Regions from separate parts of the Homo sapiens genome. Here all the other regions are linked to region 1. Evidence: promoter capture Hi-C in 16 types of primary human blood cells and fetal thymus (Javierre and others, 2016). All regions are on one chromosome and are shown on one strand. The core of a region is centred on a gene start or on the middle of the fragment in contact, and the rest is flanking DNA. Distances in the headings are between cores, read along the strand shown. Region 1 holds the start of SIT1 (signaling threshold regulating transmembrane adaptor 1). Region 2 has its middle 9.6 kb from the start of OR13J1. Region 3 has its middle 4.8 kb from the start of RUSC2.

Region 1 (4,063 bases), core at 1-2,500:
GGCTCATGCCTGTAATTCCAGCACTTTGGGAGACCGAGGTGGGCAGGTTGCTTGAGGTCAGGAGTTGAGACCAGCCTGGCAACACAGGGAGACCTATCTCTACAAAAAATGAACTAGATTAGCTGGGTGTGGTGGCACATGCCTGTAGTCCTAGCTGCTTAGGTGGCTGAGATGGGAGGATCACTTGAGCCCGGGAGATCGTCAAGGCTGCAGTGAGCTGAGATTGTGTTACTGCACTCCAACCTGGGAGACAAAGTAAGACCCTGTCTCAAAAAAAATATAAAACTTAGATCCATAAAATATTTTTCAGGGAGGATAATTTTATCACTGATTTTTTTTTTCAGAATTTCTGGAACATGGTGATAATAAGAGGACTGATTTTTATTTTTTAAATTCTCTACAGACAATGCACCCCCTTATTGCCTGCAACTCAAGGGGCAGGACTTCTGCCATCCCTATTGTTGGCATGCCACTGCACTGATTTTAAACTTTTAAAAAATGTTGTATGGGCTAGACAAAACACATCTCTGACTTCTGGTCTCAGGTTTATATTTGCAACTTAAAATCCCTCTTCCTACATCAATAGCCTTGCACGTGATGGAGTTAGCTCTAGGTATGGCAGGTACTACACCCGCTGAAGTGAACATGTGCAAGATAGGGCTCAGTTTCCCAGGACAGTCCTACAGCAAAGAGTTTTAAAATGCAATTAATTATTGAGAGTGACAGTTCTTACAGACAGTTTGGATGAAGTGGGTTGAAAGGGGAGGTTTGGGGGTGTCCCCCAAATTATAATGCCCCCAATGAAACAATAACAAGCATCATCTAAACACATATCCTCTCAGATCAGCCTTAGGGTGTGATGGGATCAGAGGTACCAGGAGGCTCCCCCGACCCTTCCACTTTATACCATACTCATTGAGGAATACATCTTTCTTCTGGGACCAGAGTCAGGGAGGAAGGTGGGCATCCTGGAGCAGAAGGGGTGTTCCTGTCCTTGTTAGTCCTGCTTCACACCACTTCTGCCCCCACCCCCCGCCCTCAGAGTCCTCAGGGACTCAACTGCCCGTGGCACATTACCCACAGGCCTGCTTCTCTTCTCAAGGGGGGCAAAGGGCCTGGGCAGCGAGGGTGGGGGAAGCTCAGGAGCTGCAGGAGTGGCGCAGGTGCAGGCACAGGGCGGGGTCTTTGTTCTTTTTTTCATCCCTCCCCTCCCCCTTCCTCCCCGGAAACCAGAGACTTTGCCACCACCAGTATTGGGGATGCTGAGCTGCGGGGTACGGGCCTGAGGAGGGATGGGAGTAAGAAGTGCTGTGGAAACCGTCAGGCCATGAACCAGGCTGACCCTCGGCTCAGAGCAGTGTGCTTGTGGACTCTCACATCTGCAGCCATGAGCAGAGGCGACAACTGCACGGATCTACTCGCACTGGGTGAGCTGGGCAGGGCAGGGGCTGGTGGGGGAGGGGTCATGTGGCCCCAGGTCCCACCTGCTGGGCCCTGGGGGTGGGGCGGGGCTGTTACACCCCCCTTCCTTTCACATCCACAGGAATCCCCTCCATAACCCAGGCCTGGGGACTGTGGGTCCTCTTAGGGGCTGTGACGCTGCTATTTCTCATCTCGCTGGCTGCACACTTGTCCCAGTGGACCAGGGGCCGGAGCAGGAGCCATCCGGGGCAGGGACGGTGGGTGAAGGACAACAGGGATGGGTTGACTGAGAGTTCTCTCTTACCGAGAAGTCCCCACTCATCCCCTAAACTCTGCGTTGCAGCTCTGGAGAGTCTGTGGAAGAGGTCCCGCTGTATGGGAACCTGCATTATCTACAGACAGGTAGGGAGCTGGCAGAGAGGAGGGGCACAGAGGCCAGGTCCTGGGTGGCTGGGATGGGGGCGTGCAGGAGGAAGGACAAGTTGCTGACCAGATTCCTGTTCCCCGTCCCAGGACGGCTGTCTCAAGACCCAGAGCCAGACCAGCAGGATCCAACTCTTGGAGGCCCTGCCAGGGTGAGTCAACTGTGGCTGGAGAAAAGGGGGAGGGAAGGAAGTGGGGGGCTTTTCGGGCTTTTCCGAGGGTCCAGTGAACTTCTAACAGCCTTGCATCTCCAGGCTGCAGAGGAGGTGATGTGCTATACCAGCCTGCAGCTGCGGCCTCCTCAGGGTCGGATCCCCGGTCCTGGAACCCCCGTCAAGTACTCGGAGGTGGTGCTGGACTCTGAGCCAAAGTCCCAGGCCTCGGGCCCCGAGCCGGAGCTCTATGCCTCAGTATGTGCCCAGACCCGCAGGGCCCGGGCCTCCTTCCCGGATCAGGCCTATGCCAACAGCCAGCCTGCAGCCAGCTGAGATGGAGGGCCTGGCACAGCGGGGCGTGCACTGCCCCAGCCCCCCGTAGCAGGGGCATGACTGTTTCCCAACCAGCACCCAAAGACGGGCGCCATTGCCAAGTCACAGGATGTGATCTACCCCGGACTTCCTATCTGAGCTTCAAGGGAGACATCTCAGGGCAAAGCTTTCGTGATGGAGGAGGCAAAGACAGTAGCCCCCTCCTTATTTCTTTTTTCTATCTGTTCCTCTTAGCCCCCAAACTCCCAGGTTCTCACTTCCTTCTTCTGGAGTTTAACCAGATCCTCCCCACCCCCGCTCCCTCATAGTCTACCCCCACGCCTCAGTGTCTCCTCAGGCACAGGAAGTGGGCGGTGGGGGAGGGGTAAGGGCCTGACAGTGGGTGGGTGGGTATATTCCTCAGGAGTCCACAGACTGGAGTGGACCTGGAACTTAGAGACGGGAGGGACCCGAGCCTGGCTTTTGACCTAAGAACCCTAGCAGGAGAATACAGTCTCCATCCTGCTGTCTCTGTCCTGTCCCCAAGTTTTCAAATAAAACTTTCCAAAAAGTGTTTAGATTTTTACCTAGAAGGCTGAAGACTTGCAAAGGGCCCTGCAGATGGGGGTGTGAGCTTTGCTGTCTGCACGGAGCTCTTTCTGGGGGTGCCTAGCTGGGGATGAGGGGCCAAGAGGGGCTGCGGCATCAACAGTGCAGAGGTGGGCACCGGGGTGGAGGGCCAGAGCCCAGCTCCTCAGCTGCTGTTGCTGCTGCTAGAACACCCCTGGGATCTGCACTCAGAGCCACTGCATTCCCCCTGGGGCTGCAAGCTCACAGTCCTGAGCTACTCTCCCCTTGACCTCTATAACTGCCATCACCTCCACAACCTGCCAGCCTGGTTCCTTCATCAAGTCCTCCAATCTGACCTCCGTCTGTCCGCTATGAGTCCCACCTATACCCCTGTTTTGACATCAGTAGCCTTATCTGCACTTAGTCATCGTATACCCCTAGAGGCCTTCTCCTTACCCCATCACTATGGCAGCGGTCCATCTCCACTCACTCTCTCCCACTCTGGCCTCCCAAAGTGCTGGGATTACAGGCATGAGCCACCGTGCCTGGCCTTCACTCTCTCAGTTGTCACCTGCAGTCTTGGCAACAGTTTTGCTTGTCACCACTTTCATTTTAATCCCCATCTAATTTGTCCTGCCTGTCCACCCATCACCTGCTGATTCTTAACCCCAGCCTCCTACCCCATATAGCATGCTACATCAGCCAGTTGGCACAGAGATTAGGACTCTGGGCTCAGGAGCCGGACTGCCTGCATTCAAATTCCATGTCTACCACTTACCAGCTGTGTGTTCTTGGGCAACTGTGCCTCGGTTTCTGAATCTGTAAGATTGAGAGGATATTAACGGTGTTTACTTCAAAAAAAGGTGGTTGTGAGGCTGAATGAGTTACCATTTGTAAAGCACTTAGACAATAAATGCTCAATAATGCTAGGCATTATTAAAATAAGAGAAATACAGGATCCTCTATGGGAGCTCATAGGTGAAGTGACTTCTAGGTAGAGACATGACACATAGTAGGAATCTGCCAGGAGAAGCGAAGGACAGAAAATGCTCCAAGGCAAAGGGAACCACAGGCAAAGGAGAGGCTTATTCAGAGGACCTGGCAGAAGTGCATTAGGCACAGCGGAGGGTAGAGTGAGATGGGGGCAATGGTAAGATGAGGCTGGAGGGGCAGACAGAGCC
Region 2 (4,063 bases), core at 394-2,893, 230 kb before region 1:
AAAAATGATTGAAAAAGGCTGGTAAGAGAGGATTTCGCCTAGCAGATATCAACATAAAGCTACAAATCACTATAAAGCCATAGTAATTAAAACAGTGTGACATGAGGACAGAAAGACAATAAAATTTCTTTAGAACATAACACTAGGTCCAGAAAGAGACTAATAAATTTGTGAGAAATTCGTATATGAGAAAGGTGGCATTTTTTAAATCAATGAGAAAAGAATGACCTCCATAATAAATTTTATTGTGGCAAGTAAATAAGTTTACTTATCCTACCTCACTCACTCAATAAGTAAATTCCAGATAAAATAAAAGTTAAATTGAAAAGTAAAACTTTTAAATCATTAGAAGAAAATACAGAAAGGCGAATGTACTTAAAACCTTGGGGATATTACACAAGAGACAACGAAAAAGAAATTTGCTACCCCAAATAATTAAACTTCTATGTAACAAAAGATATCATACACAAATAAAAAAGGTAACTGACATAAAATGTTTGCCACATATATAATACACAAAGAAATACTATAGAGACTATATAAAGAATTTCTAGAAATCATTATTTTCAAAATTAGAAAAATGAGCATAAAATATGAAGAGATAATCAACAGAAAAAAATTTTAATGGCAAAAAATGACAAATAGAATTATTATTAACATTTTTAGTGATCAGGGAAATGTAAAATAAAACAGCAAGATATCCTTTTTCACCCATTGTAATACAAAATTTAAAAGACTGAGGCCAGGTGAGGTGGCTCAAGCCTGTAATCCCTGAACTTTGGGAGGCTGAAGGGGGAGGATCACTTGAGATCAGGCATTCAAGACCAGCCTAGGCAAATAACAAGACTCCATCTCTAAAAAAAAATTAAAATAATCATCAGGGTGCGCTGGCATGCTCCTGTAGTCCTGCTTACTCGGGAAGCTGAGACATGCGGATCACTCACGCCCAAGAGTTCAAGGTTACAGTGAGCTATGATTGCACCACTGCGCTACAGCCTGGGCAACAAAGCAAAATTCCATCTCTTTAAAAGTTTAATTTAATTTAATTTTAACTTAAAAATAAAAAATAAAAGACTGATAACACCCAGTATCAGTCAGGATATGGAGAAATGGGTACTGTTATATTCTTGGTGGAGATTTAAATTAAGACAACATTTCTGAGGGCAATTTAGGGCATCTTTCAACAATTTAAATAAACATACCTTCAATCCAATAACTTCCTGTCAAAATATCTATCCTAGAGAAGTATCTGTACATGTGCCAAAGAGTCATGTAAAATGATATGATTTGCAGCATTGTTTGCATGGCCAAAGAAAACATGAGATACAACCTAAATGTCTAACAACAGGAAATACTCAAATAAGCTATAATATATTCACACAATAGAATATTACATATAACTTACAAAGAAACAATTATATAAAAATATCTACGGTCGGGCGCGGTGACCCACACCTGTAATCCCAGCACTTTGGGAGGCCGAGGCAGGTGGATCACCTGAGGTCAGGAGTTTGAGACCAGCCTGACCAGCATGGTGAAACCCCGTCTCTACTAAAAATACAAAAATTAGCTCGGTGTGGTGGTGCATGCCTGTGGTTCCAGTTACTTGGGAGGCTGAGGAGAATCGCTTGAACCTGGGAGCCGGAGGTTGCAGTGAGTCGAGATCACGCCACTGCACTCCAGCCTGGGCACCAAGAGTGAAACTCCATTCTCTCTCTCTCAATCTCTCTCTCTCTCTCTCTCTCTATGTATATATATATATGTGTATGTGTGTGTGTGTGTGTGTGTGTATATATATGTATATATGTGTGTATATATATGTATACATATATTATATATGTGCATATACATATGTGTATATATGTATACACATATGTATATATGTGTACATACACATTTACATATATATACACAAGACATGGTATATTGTTAAAAGCAAGCCTCACATATTAAAGAAAGACACAGAAGATTTTTAAAGACCCAAATAAAACTTTTAAAAATAAAAAAATACAATTTTTGAGATTAAAAAAAAATCAAATGGATGAATGCAACATGATATCCTGGATTGGATCCAGGAACAGAAAAAGGATATTTGTGGGAAAACTGGGAAAATTTGAATAAAGCCTGTAGTTTAATTAATAGTGCCAATTATGTTTAGTTAATAGTGCCAATTATGTTTAGTTGTGTCACTGCTAATTTCTGAGTTTTGATGAACATTTCATGGCTATATAAGATGTTCACATTAGGAGAAGTTGGTTGAAAGTTATTCAGGAAATCTACATCCTATCTTTAGAACTCTTCTGCCAATCTAAGATTATTTCAAAATTTAAAACAAATTTCAAATATATTAGATGGAATTAATAGCAGACTAGAACCTACAGCAGAAAATATTAGTAAACTTGATACCATAGCAATATACATTAACCAAAATAAAATACACAAAAATATAAATAAATAAAATATCAGTGAGCTTTGGGACTTCAAGTAGCCTAATATAGGTACAACTAGAATCTCAGGAAAAGAAGCAATGGACAGAAAAAAAATGATCAAAATTTTTCTACACTTAAAAAAACCTACAAAATCATAGATCCAAAAACCTCAACAAAGCCCAAGCAGAAGAACAAGAAGACAGCTACAAAATCATAGATCCAAGAATCTCAACAAAGCCCAAGCAGAAGAACATGAAGACAGCTACACCAAGGCATATTATAATACTATTGCTTTAATCAGCGGTAAAGAGAACATCTTAAAAGCAATCATAGAAAAAGACACGTTATATACAGAGGAACAAACAAGAATGACAGCAGTCATTGTCAGAAACAATGCAAGCCAGAAGACAGTAGCGCAATATCTTCAAAATGGTAAAAGGAAAATTAAACTGTCAGAATTCTATACTAAGCAAAATACCTCTCAATACTGAAGTTAAATAAAAATATTTTCAGACATACAAAATTTGAAAGATTTTATTACCAACAGTCCAGATCTATAAGAATGTTAAAAGAAGTCCTTCAGGTGGAAGAAAAATGTTATCAGAAGAAAATACCTATCTATACCAGGCAATAAAGAGCCCTAGAAATGGTGAATATGTGAATAAATATAAAATATTTTTACTCTAATTTTTAAACCTTTTAAAACATAGCTTGGATGTGGCCAATAGGAAGCTAATAATTTTTTTAAAGGAAGGAATATATGGCATAGTTGACTATTGGAAGCAAAAGTAATAAGGTATTATAGAATTTTAACAGATGTGGAATTACAATATATAACAACAATAGCTCAAAACCCAGATGAGGGGAAGTGAAAGGGCATTGTTGCGACATTTATATACTATAGGTGAGGTGGTATTACATTAATTAAAGGTAGATTAAAAGAGGAACAAATAACAGATGGAACAATAGAAAACAAACAGCCAGATGAAATATTTAAATCCAACTATGTCCCTGGTCATTTTTAATGCAATTGGTCTAAGCATCTAAATTAAAGGGCAGAGATTGTCTGATTAAATTTTTAAAGATCCGGCCGGGCACAGTGGCTCACGCCTGTAATCCCAGCACTTTGGGAGGCCGAGGCAGGCAGATCACGAGGTCAGGAGATTGAGACCATCCTGGCCAACATGGTGAAACCCCGTCTTTACCAAAAATACAAAAATTAGCTGGGCCTGGTGGCACGTGCCTGTAATCCCAGCTACTCAAAGGAGGCTGAGGCGGGAGAATGGTGTGAACCCAGGAGGCAGAGCTTGCAGTGAGCCGAGATCACACCACTGCACTCCAGCCTGGCGACATAGCAAGGCTCCATCTCAAAAAAAAAAAAAAAAAAAATTAAAGCTCCAATTCTATATTAATAGCAGACAAAGTAGATATTAGAGCAAAAACATTAACAGGGATAAAGAGGGTCATTTGAAAATGACAAAGATGTCAGTTCATCAAGATAACATAACAGTCCTAAAAGCTTATATATCTAATGACAGAGCCTCAAAATACATAAAGCAAGACCTGATAGAACTGAAAGGAGGAATAGACAAATCTGTAATTGCAGCCAAAGATTTCAACATCCCTGTCTCAGT
Region 3 (4,063 bases), core at 735-3,234, 170 kb after region 1:
GAGTGGGAGGTAAAGAGAGAATTGGCATGTGCAAAAGAACTGAGGGGCAAAATGACCAATGTGATTGAGAAGTGTGGGAGGCAACGGAGACAGCTGAGGAGAGCTGGTCAGGGTTTGGTGATGAAACGCCTATGACTACTAAGGAGTTGGGAGAGATACTGAAGGGCTTTATTGCAGAGGCAGGAATGACAAGATCAAATATGAATGTTAGAAATAAAGTTCTAAGGGCTTAAATAAGGGTGACATGGAGAGAGCTAGCATTGCCAGTGGGGAACCAATGAGGAATTGCATGTTTGCACAGTGTGATCCCCCAGTTAAATAGTCTGGGTTGGGGAATTAAGCCAAACCAGGCCAATTAGAATTACTTCTCTAAGAATTTGGAATTGGGAGACAAAGAGCTACATCTCTGCTCAGACTTAAATTGGACTTAAGGGTAATTTGGGAGCTATGCAGTAGTCATCTTCTACTTGCCCATTTGGCCTGAGCAGCATTGAAAACCAGTTTGCTGAGAAAGAAGATCAATCAGTTGCACACAGAGAAGCAAGTCTAGACACAAAAAGACTGCTCCCTAGGTTCTTGGGACCTTCCAGCAGCTGGTTCCACTTCTTTCTGAGGCCCAGCAGGATTCCTTCCCCAGGATCATGATGCATCCTTCTATCCATTCATAGGAATCTCATTTTTGGCTTCAGCGAGTGTGGGTTACTTCCTGTTGTTTGTGTTAAAGAATAACTTTCAAAAAGGTAAAATAATGAGCCTTATGCAAGTATTTTTATTTTTTATTTTTTGAGACAGGTTCTCTGTTACCCAGGCTGGAGTGCAGTGGTGCGATCATGGCTCACTGCAGCCTCGACTTCCGGGCTTCAGCGATCCTCCCACCTCAGCCTCCAGAGTAGCTGGGACTAAAGATATTTTTTGCATTTTTGGTAGAGACAGGGTTTTGCCATGTTACCCAGGCTGGTCTTGAACTCCTGAGCTCAAGCAATCCACCCGCCTCCACCTCTTAAAGTGCTGGGATTACAGACATGAGCCACTGAGCCTGGCAGAGCCTTATACAAATATACAATGAACATATTTCAAATTTTTTATTTAACTAATGAGGGAACCAGTAAGATACTAAAACCAGTTCAAATGAAGATTTGACTTAGAAATGTCTTTTCTCTAATGGACAAAATTTATTTGCATCACCCAGAACAGGAATCGTTTGCACTGTTATGGGCAGAAAATCTTTTGTATTATTTATTGTCAGTATTCTGAAGTTAACTTCTAACTCCAACGAGTTAGAAAATAGCTTACTTGTAAAATAGGAACCTAGTCAAAGGAAATCAAAGGCTCTCACCGCTAATATAATCAAATAATTCCCAAAGATTCTTAACAGCACCCAACATTCCATTAAAAAGACACCCATTTCAAAGTATTTCTTAAGTTTTCCAGACACTTGCAAATCAAAGAATATACGAAAACACAGAGACATAAGAAAGCATGATGCTGGCCGGGTGCGGTGTCTCACACCTGTAATCCCAGCACTTTGGGAGGCCAAGGCAGGCACATCACCTCAGATCAGGAGTTCAAGATCAGCCTGGCCAACATGGTGAAACCCCGTCTCTACTAAAAATACAAAAATTAGTTGGGCATGCTGGCAGGTGCCTGTAATCCCAGCTACTCAGGAGGTTGAGGCAGGAGAATCGCTTGAACCCGGGAGGTGGAGGTTGCAGTGAGCTCAGATTGCACCATTGCACTCCAGCCTGGGTAACAAGAGCGTAACTCCATCTCAAAAACAAACAAACAAAGAGGCTGGGCACGGTGGGTCATGCCTGTAATCCCAGAACTTTGGGAGGCAAAGGTGGGTGGATCACCTGAGGTCAGGAGTTCGAAACCAGCCTGACCAACATGGTGAAAAGCCCACCTCTACTAAAAATACAAAATTAGCCAGGCATGGTGGCACATGCCTGTAATCCCAGCTACTTGCCTCTCTGAGGCAGGAGAACTGCTTGAACCTGGGAGGTGGAGGTTGCAGTGAGCCGAGATCACACCATTGCACTCCAGCCTGGGCAACAAGAGTGAAACTCTGTCTCAAAAAAAAAAAAAAAAACAAAGAAAGCATGATGCCTTAGGGAAACTCAAGTAGTATGGGCATTAGTTAAGCATGGGCAAAGTGTAGGAGGGAGGCAACAGCAAGATTAGGAAGGGCCTTGTATGTGTGTTTGGGAGTTTGGATTTTATTTTCTTGAGATGGAGTCTTGCTCTGTCACCCCAGGTGGAATGCAGTGGTGTGATCTCGGCTCACTGCAACCTCTGCCTCCTGGGTTCAAGTGATTCTCCTGCCTCAGCCTCCCGAGTAGCTGGGATTACAGGAGCCCGCCACCACGCCCAGTTTCACCATGTTGGCCAGGCTGGTTTTGTACTTCTGACCTCAGGTGATCTACCCGCCTCAGCCTCCCAAAGTGCTGGGATTACAGGCATGAGCCACCATGCCCAGCTAAGTTTGGATTTTATTCTGAAGGCTGTTGGCACTATTATTTCATGCAGGGGAGTGATGTGAACATATCTGAGCTTTAGAAATCTCACTTCAGTAGGAGTGTGGATATTGAATTACAGGAAGGTAATCAATCAACCAGTTAGGAGATTGATAATTATGATGAGAACTGAAAGAGTCTGAATTAGGGCAGTGGCTGAAGGCTTAGATAAGAGGAGATAGATTCAAGGATGATTTAGGGTATAGAAATCTGTAGAATTTAGTGATTAATTGAATGTGTCATGGGGGTGGGTGGGGTAACATACAGCAAATAGTCTTGAATGACTCCCAGGATCCTCCAAATGATGTGTCTTTTCCAAAACGCTTTTCATGAATCTTAGAAGATTTGGTAGATAATTTGGAGCTGGAATCACAGGGATATGTTGGGGCTAGGACAGTGTTCCTTGTTCATTTCTTTGGGGCACCACGAACTGCGCCTATAGAAGATGCCAAACTTAATAAATGCCTGTTCTGACTGCTCCACCAACCCGTCATTCCCATCTTTACCTCTCCTCAGGCCTCCCTATTCCCTGAGACACAACAATATTGAAATCAGGCCAATTAATAACCCTAAATGGCCTCTAAGTGTTCAAGTGAAAGGAAGAGTCACATATCTGTCACTTGAAATAAAAAGCTAGAAACGATTAAGATTATTGAGGAAGGCATGTCGAAAGCCAAGACAGGCTGAAAGCTAGGCCTCTTATACCAGTTAGCCAAGTTGTGAATGCAAAGGAAAAGTTATTGAAGGAAATTAAAAGTGCTATTCCAGTGAACACACAAATAAGAAAGCAAAACAGCCTTATTGCAGATACAGAGAAAGTTTGAGTGGTCTGTATAGAAGCTGAAACCAGCCACAGTATTCCCTTAAGCCAAAACCTAATCCAGAGCAAGGCCCTAACTCTCTTCAATTCTATGAAGGCTGGGGAAGAAGTTACAGAAGAAAAGTTGGATGCCAACAGAGGTGGGTTCATGAGGTTTACAGAAAGAAGTCGTCTCTATAACATAAAAGTACAAGGTGAAGGAACAAGTGCTGATGCAAAATGTACTTAGTGAATGGTCCTTTTTAGTAGCAACCAGTACTTGTCACTTTAAGTTTCGCTTTAGTAGTTAAAGTGATTTAATGAAATAATTTTTAAAAACTTCAACCTTTACAATTAATGCTTTTCCTTATCTTTCAGCTGGGCTGCTGCATGTGGCCAGGTTCAGTGGGCTTTGTAGATGTCTGTTTTTCTACTTACCCCTCCTCCCTCCTTCAGCTTGCTAATTCTTTTTTCTCCGGGGCTTAAGCAGGACAGGAGAGGGAAGAGATGAAGAAAGCCTTTACTTGACTAATACAGTCATAAACTAATTTTAAGGCTTGGCAGATAAGTTAGGCATGGTGGCTCATGCCTGTAATCCCAGCACTTTGGGAGGCTGAGGCGGGTAGATCAGTTGAGACCAGGAGTTTGAGACCAGCCTGGCTAACATGGCAAAAACCCGTCTCTACTAAAGATACAAAAATTAGCCGGGTGTGGTGGTGTGCACCTGTAATCCCAGCTACTCGGGAGGCTG

The links. The method cuts DNA at HindIII sites, captures the fragments that hold promoters and counts their contacts. A CHiCAGO score of 5 or more calls a contact.
Region 2: a fragment that was not itself captured here is called in contact with the fragment with the promoter of SIT1 in region 1 in 1 of 17 cell types (naive B cells); the score reaches 5.3 in naive B cells.
Region 3: a contact is called between a fragment that was not itself captured here and the fragment with the promoter of SIT1 in region 1, in 3 of 17 cell types (M0 macrophages, M2 macrophages and M1 macrophages). The highest score is 7.1, in M0 macrophages.

Annotation. Positions count from the first base shown.
Region 1 is chr9:35,648,118-35,652,180 of GRCh38, reverse strand. It overlaps SIT1 (signaling threshold regulating transmembrane adaptor 1), which reads left to right and starts at 1,250. Exons shown (of 5, transcript NM_014450.3): 1 at 1,250-1,427; 2 at 1,544-1,679; 3 at 1,766-1,824; 4 at 1,936-1,997; 5 at 2,100-2,886. The coding sequence starts at 1,328. The coding sequence ends at 2,333. RefSeq lists a silencer at 1,470-1,539 and an enhancer at 2,450-2,499. The HindIII fragment of the contact is 5,575 bases long and covers 1-2,501 here.
Region 2 is chr9:35,877,979-35,882,041 of GRCh38, reverse strand. No RefSeq gene overlaps it. Among named protein-coding and RNA genes, the nearest start is that of OR13J1, 9.6 kb to the right of the region's middle. The HindIII fragment of the contact is 4,615 bases long and covers 1-3,950 here.
Region 3 is chr9:35,483,316-35,487,378 of GRCh38, reverse strand. No RefSeq gene overlaps it. Among named protein-coding and RNA genes, the nearest start is that of RUSC2, 4.8 kb to the left of the region's middle. The HindIII fragment of the contact is 7,851 bases long and covers 1-4,063 here.